Regions from separate parts of the Homo sapiens genome. Here region 2 is linked to region 1. Evidence: promoter capture Hi-C in human tissues and cell types (Jung and others, 2019). All regions are on one chromosome and are shown on one strand. The core of a region is centred on a gene start or on the middle of the fragment in contact, and the rest is flanking DNA. Distances in the headings are between cores, read along the strand shown. Region 1 holds the start of VSIG2 (V-set and immunoglobulin domain containing 2). Region 2 has its middle 13 kb from the start of TMEM218.

Region 1 (4,300 bases), core at 860-3,359:
AAATTAAAATCTCTCCTCCACATGACAGCCCTTTGGATAGTTGAATCCAGCAGTAATACACCCATCCGAGGCCTTCTCTTTTCCATCTAAACACTGCCAGTCTCTGTGATAGTTTTTCTGGTTGCTCATCTCTGAAAAGGCTCTAGTTTGGGGTGAGACAGAAGCTCTGAGCACGAAGTTGGTGCTCAGTAATAGGGGCCCTTGTTCCTTTGGTGGCCACTCCCCTTCTCTGCCATTGACCTTGGGAGGGACAGAATCCAACTACCGATGAGAGCCTCCCCCATGATGGAGCTGCTGGGAGCAGGCTCAGATCCCCATGTATGGGAAGGACTTTCTCTCACACACTCTGTTATTAGGCTCTGATGGAGGAGATGCTCTCGGTGGAGGGTGGAGTTGGAGTATGACCATCTGAATTAGAAGACTTGGAAAGGGAGTATTTTCACTTGGGGCCCCCAGTGCAGTTGTGTGCTTGGGCTAAAAGTCAGAAACCAGAGATTTAGCAAGACCAGTGCAAACGCCCCAAGTATGTGAAAGAGTATGTGGCTCGTGGATCCCCAGTCTGCCTTACCCAGCACAGTAAGGTTGATTAGCCCCAACCCATTGGTGTAGAAATCTGGTGGGTTGTTGACTTGGCAGAGGTAGGTTCCAGTATCTGAGGGGTGGACGTCAGTCAGTTTCAGTGTGGCCACCCCCACTGTGGGGGGGTTCTGAAGCAGGCTGACCCGCTTTGACTTAGAACCAGTTGGATACAGATGGCCATTGGTGAAGTACAGGATCTGGGGAGAGGCAGAAGACACACATATGTGCCTGTTTCTGCCTGGCATCAACTCTACAGTCCTTCCTCATCAAAGTGGGTATAAGAGGCCTCTGACTTACATCAGCCAGGGAGGCTGATACCCTTAAGCTGGAACTCCAAAGGTCTCTCTGTCCCCAAACACCACCCCCTTTCAGGTGCTAAATGAACCTGATCCATTGGTCTCTCTCTCTCTCTCTCAAAGAGAGAGGCAGAAGAGGCAGCATATTATCTTGGTATCAGTCACAACACCTTAGTGTCAATGGATACACTAAGGCAGGGGAGTTGGAAATAGGAGCTATGGAAGAGGAAAGGAAGATACACGGTCAGGCAGACTGCAGCTCTGAAAAGATCTAGGGAGAGCCCACTTACCTTTTCATCCAAGCATACTGATCCCCAAACTCCCCCTCCCGACCCCATGCCCTCATCCTGGGCTCCTGTCCCTCCAGGCCAACCCAGCTTCATGCAGTCGCTCTCAGCTCACTGGATGGGACTCAGAGATGGGTTTCCCAGGCTGCACAAAGCTCCACTCCAGGGCGAAGCTGTCTCCCACCGACGTGCTGTAGGTGCAGGTCAGCTCGGCTGTCTTCCCCAGGGGCGTGCTCAGCGGCTCTGTGGGTACCTTCACCTCCACGGCCAGCCCTGGGGCCGGGGACCAGAGGGAGGTGGGAACCCAAATTCCAGTGATCTGGAGGGTCGGGCCCACCCCCGGGCATCTATATTGGAAGCTGGGGGCTCCCTCCCCAGAGCACAACCCTCTCCCCTCAATCCAACCCCTCCCTTCCCAAAACCTGAGGTTTCCGGGAGGGGCCGGGTCTTTGTGGGTAAAAGAGCCGGAACCGGGCCAGGTAAGAGGGTGTGTGTGTTTAGCAGAGAAAGGAAAACACTAGCCCTGCGGTGGGGTGGTTCAGGCCTGTGCCGCGGAGAGGCCCAACTCGCTCGCCGGCTTGGGGGTCTCTCTCCTACGCCCTCCGGGCCTTGGACACCCCCTCTCCGGCCTCACCTCAGGCGCCTTAGGGCCCCTGGCGCCCACGGCAGCCTCATCTGGCCTGGCGGGGACAGAGTGGGTCCGAGGAGCCGGGGAAGCCAGGCCTATGCCCCCCAGCCCTCGCCGTGGTCCCGCCCGGCCCCTCCTCACCACTCAGGCACAGGAAGCCTAGCAGGGCCCCGCAGAGAAAGGGCCCCGGGAGCTCGGCCATGGCCGCGTCCGGCCGTCCTGTCCTGCTCCTGCCAGGTGGGCGGTCAAGGTCGGTCTGGGTGTCGGGCAGGGAAGGGAGCACCCAAGGGCAGCCGCCCGGGCTGGGCAGGAGCGAGACTGGTATCTCAGAGCAAACAGGGGAGAGGCCGGCGCCGCAGGTTAAAAAAAAAAAAAAGTGCTCCTCCCTCCTCTCCTCCAGCCCCGATTCTGCAATCCCTCTGTCCCTTCTTCCTCCTTCCTTCCTCTTCTCCCCAAGGTCTGAAGCTGTCCGGCCTTGGGAAAAGCGCTGGGCTTGGGGTGGGCCTTCTGCAGAGACGGAAGGAAAGCTGACTTTGGAAGGCGTCCTGATACCCCAGAGCTGGCAAGGGGAGTCCCCACCTCGGAGCCTCACTGTGAGTGTGAGCCCCAGGCCGCAGACCCTTCCTGTCCACAGCGCTTTTCATTTCACCACTTACTGAGGTAGGAGTCTCTGTAGAAATGAGCATCTCTCCATTTCCAGAGCCACTCCATTTTAGGGGCAGAGAAACTGAGACCTAAAGGAGACCTCACCCTTGGTAGGAAAGAACATGGCAGAACTTGGACACAGACCTGCACCTCATACTATGCCCAGCTCTCCCTCAGTAACAACAGAGATCTCTTCCAGATGGGCAAGGAGTGTTTTGTTAAGGATTCCGTGGTGTGGGAGAGGAGCCCACGTGAGCTTCCTCTCCCCTGTCCCTGAAGAGGAAGCAGATGAGGTACACGTACCCCCTAGCCGGGAGCACTCAAGCTCCAGCAGAAAGCGTATCAACTCCATCCCTCTGCTGTTCAGAGTAGCTTAGAGTCTCCTCCCCTTCTCCACGTGACAAACAAGGACCCTTCTAAACACTAGAAGAGCTGCTCTAAGCCTGTGGGGGGAAGCCCTCCTGGGTACACAGCTTGGGAAGGGGTCCACTTTGCATCCTCCTGAAGCTCAATTTCAAGAATTCTTAGTTTGAAAAGGCAACTTGTTTCTTATCTCATACAAACATTATGTATCTTTATTTAAATTTGCAAATGAAAACAACACATATTTCATGTTAGTTTTAATAAGAGATTCCCTATCCTCTGCCCCAGTAAAACCTAACCAAGCCAGCCTGACAGGTTATATCAATACAGGGAGCTGGAGTGGGAGCCAAGGGTGGTGTTAGATAGGGGTGGGGTACAGATCAAGGGGGCCTGGGAGACTCAGTGACTGGAAGTCTCTGCCCCTCACTCTTGGTGAGTAGCTAATTTCAGCAGCTGGCTTCATAAGGAGGAGTCAGGGGTGGGTGGAGGCTCCTCCCAATTCCAGATCCACTTCCTCTTCTCCTTCTGTCTCCTGGACACTTAGGTCTTACTGAGATGGTTTTCCCACAGTAAAGAGAGGTGGGGGCAGAGTACTAAGGGTCAGGAGTGTGACTCTTTCCCATGACTCAGGCCTCTGTGCTAGAGGTGACCCTTATAGGAAGGAGAGACCCCAAATCCTTTAGCCAATGAGTGGTGGGGTCATCATACCAGAGAGCCAGCTTGACTCTGGGCAGGCACCATCACAGGCACAGCACCCATGCGGCTCAAGCCAGAGGAAGAAACCCCACCAGGGATGGGGGATATTGGTTGAGGGTGGGCCCCATCTGTCGTGGGCAGTCTTGGTGAGGGCAGGGCCTGGCTGGAGAGACTGGGCGTGGGGGTCAATGCACCAGGCCTGGGAGGGCCATGGGGTGGCCGGAGGGCTCGTGCGGAGGTGACAGAGGAAAGGGTCCCATTCTTGGAGATTGTGTCTGAGCTCTTGGGCCAGGGCAGGGTCCGGGGAGCAATGGCATCCTCCCTAGTCATCAAAGAAATAACAAGAGGTCAGAAGTGGGTGGGGGAAGGAGGAGAGAGTTTCTACCTGCTTGGTCTTATATACCACCTCTGCCTGCACACTTCAGTACTCCTTTCCCTCTCCCTTAAAACCTGCCCATAGGAATGATGTTTCAGCCACTGACCCCATCCCAATAGATGAGAGCTGCCTGAATTCCCAGCCTCTGTGAGGAGAGCTGGGAGAGCCCCCGCTGCAGCAGACACCAGGGACACTTACTTGATATCATTGGCTGGCTCCTCCAGGGCCTTGCCCCGGCGGTGGTACAAGAGGACCAGCCCAGCCAGCAACCCCAGTCCAACCAGGGTACCCACAACAGCTCCAGCAACCACTGCAGCTCCAGGCCCTGGAAAAGGCGTCGTGTCAGAGGAGGACACCCAGCTGAGGGGTTCTCACCCCTCTCCAATCCCACTCTCCCCACCCCATCTGCCACCATACACATTCCCTCTTT
Region 2 (4,519 bases), core at 1,259-3,758, 370 kb after region 1:
AATGAAGTTACATCATATTTGGTATTTCCTCTCATTCACATCAATAAACATATATTGGTTGGTCTCCTATCTTCTAGGTTCTTTGTTAGGTGTTGTGGAAACAAAAATGACCAAGATATTAGTTTTGTCTTAAAGAGATGACATCTAGCAGAGGCGACAGACATATAAACACCAGATCCAAATTAATACAGGTATAGTTAATGTATGTGTTACCTCTAATTTGCATTAAAGGGATAGATATAGATGATAGATAGAAATATACAATATAATAGATAATGTATCATCTCATATGTATTATATTATACAGTAGCAGTATAAACAAAGTATATTGAAAACCTAGAGAAAAAGGAGATTAATTCTTCATTGTGCAGAAAGAGAAAGGAGGGCTTCACACAAAAAAGTGACATTTGACTGAGCCTTGAAAATACAGAGTTTTTTTTAGGCCGGGCATGGTGGCTCATGACTGTAATCCCAGCACTTTGGGAGGCAGGTGGATCATTTGAGGTCAAGAGTTCAAGACCAGCCTGGCAAACATAGTGAAACCCTGTCTCTACTAAAAACACAAAACAATGAGCCAGGTATGGTGGCATGTGCCTATAATCCCAGCTACTCAGAGGCTGAAGTATGATAATCGCTTGAACCCAGGAGGCAGAGGTTGCAGTGAGCTGAGATCACACCACTGCACTCCAGCCTGGGTGACAGGATGAGACCCTGTCTCAAAAAAAAAAAAAAAAAGAAAGGGAAAGAAAAGAAAATACATAGGGTTTTTGTGAGATAAGTAGAGAATGGAGATAGGAAGAAATTCCAGAGTGGAGAAATAGGAGAAGCAAAGCATAGAAAAGTGAATGTCTTTGGCATGATTCAGAAATAGCAAATATTCTAGTGTGAGTTAAGGACCAGGTTCAGGGAAATGAGTGTCAAGAGCTGAAAAGTGTGTGAAGGGTCTTGAATGCTATGATAAGGAATTTTGGCTTTATTCTGTAGGTGAAGGGTTTAGCTAAGTCAGAAGTATTTAAGCAGGAGAGTAAATAACACAATCAGATTGATCAACTTCATAACTCTATTGCACAAGGAAATAAGTTCAATTTAGCAAAACTTATTCTTAATGAATCCACTTTGGTTCTAGCATGAATTGACCACTAAACATCTGATTAACGAGTACGTCAAACTTTTTGTGTGTGTTTTGCCCTGCTATTATGTTTTTCCTGACTTTCACTTTGACCTGTTGGCCTCTTGGCTTTATTTTTCCCTTAGGCATCTGGGTTCTGCATTCCCTTGATTTATTTGTCCACCCACAGCTTGCTCTGACCTTTATTATTTAACGTGTCCTCTGACTTTGGCTCACTTACTGGATTCTGAGCCACGGCAATTCCTTGACCTCAGTCCTGGATTTGCTTCTGCTTTGGAATTCCCACCTGATTTCAGTTGCCCAATTGTGCTGTGACCTCTGCATTCTGTCCTGCCTTGGATCTAACCTGGTCTCATCCTTTGTGTTGCTGTCTCTGCCTCAGTTCTTCTAGTCTAGCTCCCCAGCCCGCAAGTTATACACACTGTTTGCTCACCTGGGCTCCAGTACTGGCAATAAAATGTAACCTGTCCTTTCTAGAAGCTGTGGTGTGGTTGAAGAGATAGTGCTAACATGCAAGAAATTATAAATTCTAACTGATTGCCAAATTGGACGTGCTAACTGAAAGTGTTATACGAACTTAGAGAAAAGACTGAACTGGGAAATTCAAGACCCTTAGGAGTAATGTTCCTTTCTAGGCAACTTCCTTTCTGAAAGATTTTGCTATCTGGAGCACGGGCTTTTCTTTGGAAGGAGAAAGGGAAATGTAAGGCAGGACTTCCTCTGGACTTTCCTATCATTGGTTCCAAAGCTGCCTATCTTTGAGGAGCTACCTTGTCGGTGCCACCTAGTGGCTGCTGCCACCAGAAATCCTACCCGCCTCAAGGAGAGAGCAATTTAACGCCATTTCCAACTTAAGCACCATATCTACAGGGCGTGAAATTAGTTCCAGCAAGCAGCAAATTTGCTGCTAATAAAAATATTTAGCGATTCACTTGTCTTTAAATCAGCAGCAGAATATTCTTTTACTTGCATCAGTGCTTGTTTCTCCCAATTCTAATATTTGATAATCAAGCTAGACGTGTTTAGCTAAAGCTATGAAACAGCAAGTTCTTCAGTTCTGCAAAAATTTTTTAGTTTCCTGAGCAAGAATTTTTATTTCCTTTTTTCTCTTTGTCAGAAATAGGCCTGGGTGTTCCTTGGATCATAGAGATGGAGCACTTCCACTGATTTCAGAGTCTTAGAAATAAGCTTTCATTCTCTTCTGTCTGCCAACATTAGCTCCTGAGTCACTGCATGTGGATAATCTGGGATGTTACAGGAAGACATGATCTCTAGCTCATGTTTAGACACTTCCTTTTTTTTTTTTTTTTTTTTTGAGACAGGGTCTTGCACTGTCACCCAGGCTAGAGTGCAGTGGCGTGATCTCGGCTCACTGCAACCTCCGCCTCCCAGGTTCAAGCGATTCTCCTGCCTCAGCCTCCCAGGTAGCTGGGACTACAGGCATGTGCCACCACGCCAGGCTATAGACACTTCTTTACTCTGTCTCAGTGCCAAACTCATTTTAGTTCCTTTTCTGTGTCTTTTAGCCTCTACACCAGAGCAAGAGTTCTCTGAATCCCACAGAGATATTGTAGAATGCTAAAACTACTTTTTCATTAAAGTCGACGAGTATTTATTGGGCACTTTCCATGTGCATCCATTGTTCTAGGTCCTGTTTGGGGTCAGAAGTGTTCCAAGAAGCCCAGCATGACAGCCAGATGAGAAACTGACATGGCAGATGACACCTCTTCTCCAGGTTGCTGGAACAGTGGGTCAGATAGACTTCTATGTATTTTTCTTCTCCTTAAGGAGCTCATAGAAGGAACAAAGTGCATCGGACATTCTACCCTTCATCAGTTTATTAGTCTAAGGGTCTCTGTTTGAGCAGATCACTAGTTCCAAAGACCAAATAATCTTTCTTTCTTTTTTTTTTTTTGAGATTGATTCTCCCTCTGTCGCCCAGGCTGGAGTGCAATGGCACAATCTTGGCTCACTGCAACATTCCCCTCCCAGATTCAGGTGTTTCTCATGCCTCAGCCTCTGGAGTAGCTGGGATGACAGATGTGCACCACCACACCCAGCTAATTTTTCTATTTTTAGTAGCGAGGGGATTTTGCCATGTTGGCCAGGCTGTTATTGAACTCCTGGCCTCAAGCAATCCACTTGCCTCTGTCTCCCAAAGTGCTGGGATTACAGGCATGAGCCACCATGCCTGGCCCCCAATAATCTTAAAAAAGAGTATAGTGGCCCCATGGTAACTCTGTCTTCTGCCCCAGAACAGCCCTGGCTGGATTATCCTCCTGGTAGAAATCAATTTTGATCATCCTGGCAGGAAATCAGGATACAGGGCAGCTTCAGACAGGAGTACCACATCCTTCTCAGAAATCAACCAACATGAGATGCTGAGTGAAAGCTGGTCTCTTGGTTAAGAGACGGATGTAGGCAGGGCTGGTAACAAGTAGTTAGAATCAAAGACTCAAACTAAACCTGCTAGCTAACACCAGCTTCACTGATGGAGATACCAGAGCAGGTAGGTTGCAGAGAGGTAATGACATTTGACAATGGTCAAGAGACCAACATGGAGGTTCTCATTGGAGCCTCCAAAATGGAGGCTCTCTTGTTGGAGCTACAATGGTTTGGGGATCAGAGCATCTGGGCTCTATTCTTGGCCTTTTCTCTCAAGTTCATGACTCTAATACAGCCCCTTCTCCCCTTTGGCATTAGTTTTCTCATCTATAAGAAGGGGTAATGAATTTTACTCCCCATCCCAGGTCCCCTTACTGCAGTATGAGAAGGGTGAGATAGGGACTATTTTAAAGGGCTGTGAGAGAGTCTCCAGAGAGGGCTGTGATGAACATCTGTATTCCTCATGGAATGGACAGCCCAGGAGGATGGTACATTTAAGTAAGACAAAGCAAGACTCTTCTAATGGTAAGAGATGTAAGACCAGTAAATTGGATCACGTGCCCTGGATGATATGTAATTCCCTCATAGTGCTCTAGCCTCAAAATCCCAAATATTGGTGAGGATCTCCCAAAGCTGCTAATGTCAAAAACTTTGATTTTACTGTAGTTAAAGTGATGGAAATCATTAGCTTTAAATTACTGGGGAAATATAAAAGATGATTTGAGGGGTAAGCTCTATCAATTATGTACTTAAGCAAGAACCAGACTCAAGATCAGGAAAAAAAAAATAAATAAAACCAAATACGTTCATAATTAGAATAAAAATGTTCTCCAGTCCTGGTCCTGTCTTTCTCACATGTCCATATGTAATCAAGAAAGGCTTTCCAAGAGTGAATATCCAAGGAAACAGGTAACTTGGTGGATGCAGATTGAACCTAAGGCATCTAGGATGGAGCAGAGCAGAAGTCCACTGGGGAGCAGGGAACATAAGCAGCAGATAAAGGAG

The links. Contacts are between HindIII fragments. The study calls those that stand out against the background at their distance.
Region 2: a fragment that was not itself captured here is called in contact with the fragment with the promoter of VSIG2 in region 1 in 1 of the 25 tissues and cell types used here (aorta).

Annotation. Positions count from the first base shown.
Region 1 is chr11:124,750,146-124,754,445 of GRCh38, forward strand. VSIG2 (V-set and immunoglobulin domain containing 2) reads right to left here and starts at 2,110. Exons shown (of 7, transcript NM_014312.5): 1 at 1,932-2,110; 2 at 1,278-1,435; 3 at 569-776. The coding sequence starts at 1,992. It overlaps ESAM (endothelial cell adhesion molecule), which reads right to left. Exons shown (of 7, transcript NM_138961.3): 6 at 4,069-4,195; 7 at 2,981-3,816. The coding sequence ends at 3,501. RefSeq lists enhancers at 1,308-1,869, 4,228-4,300. The HindIII fragment of the contact is 14,367 bases long and covers 1-4,300 here.
Region 2 is chr11:125,122,452-125,126,970 of GRCh38, forward strand. No RefSeq gene overlaps it. Among named protein-coding and RNA genes, the nearest start is that of TMEM218, 13 kb to the left of the region's middle. The HindIII fragment of the contact is 3,133 bases long and covers 943-4,075 here.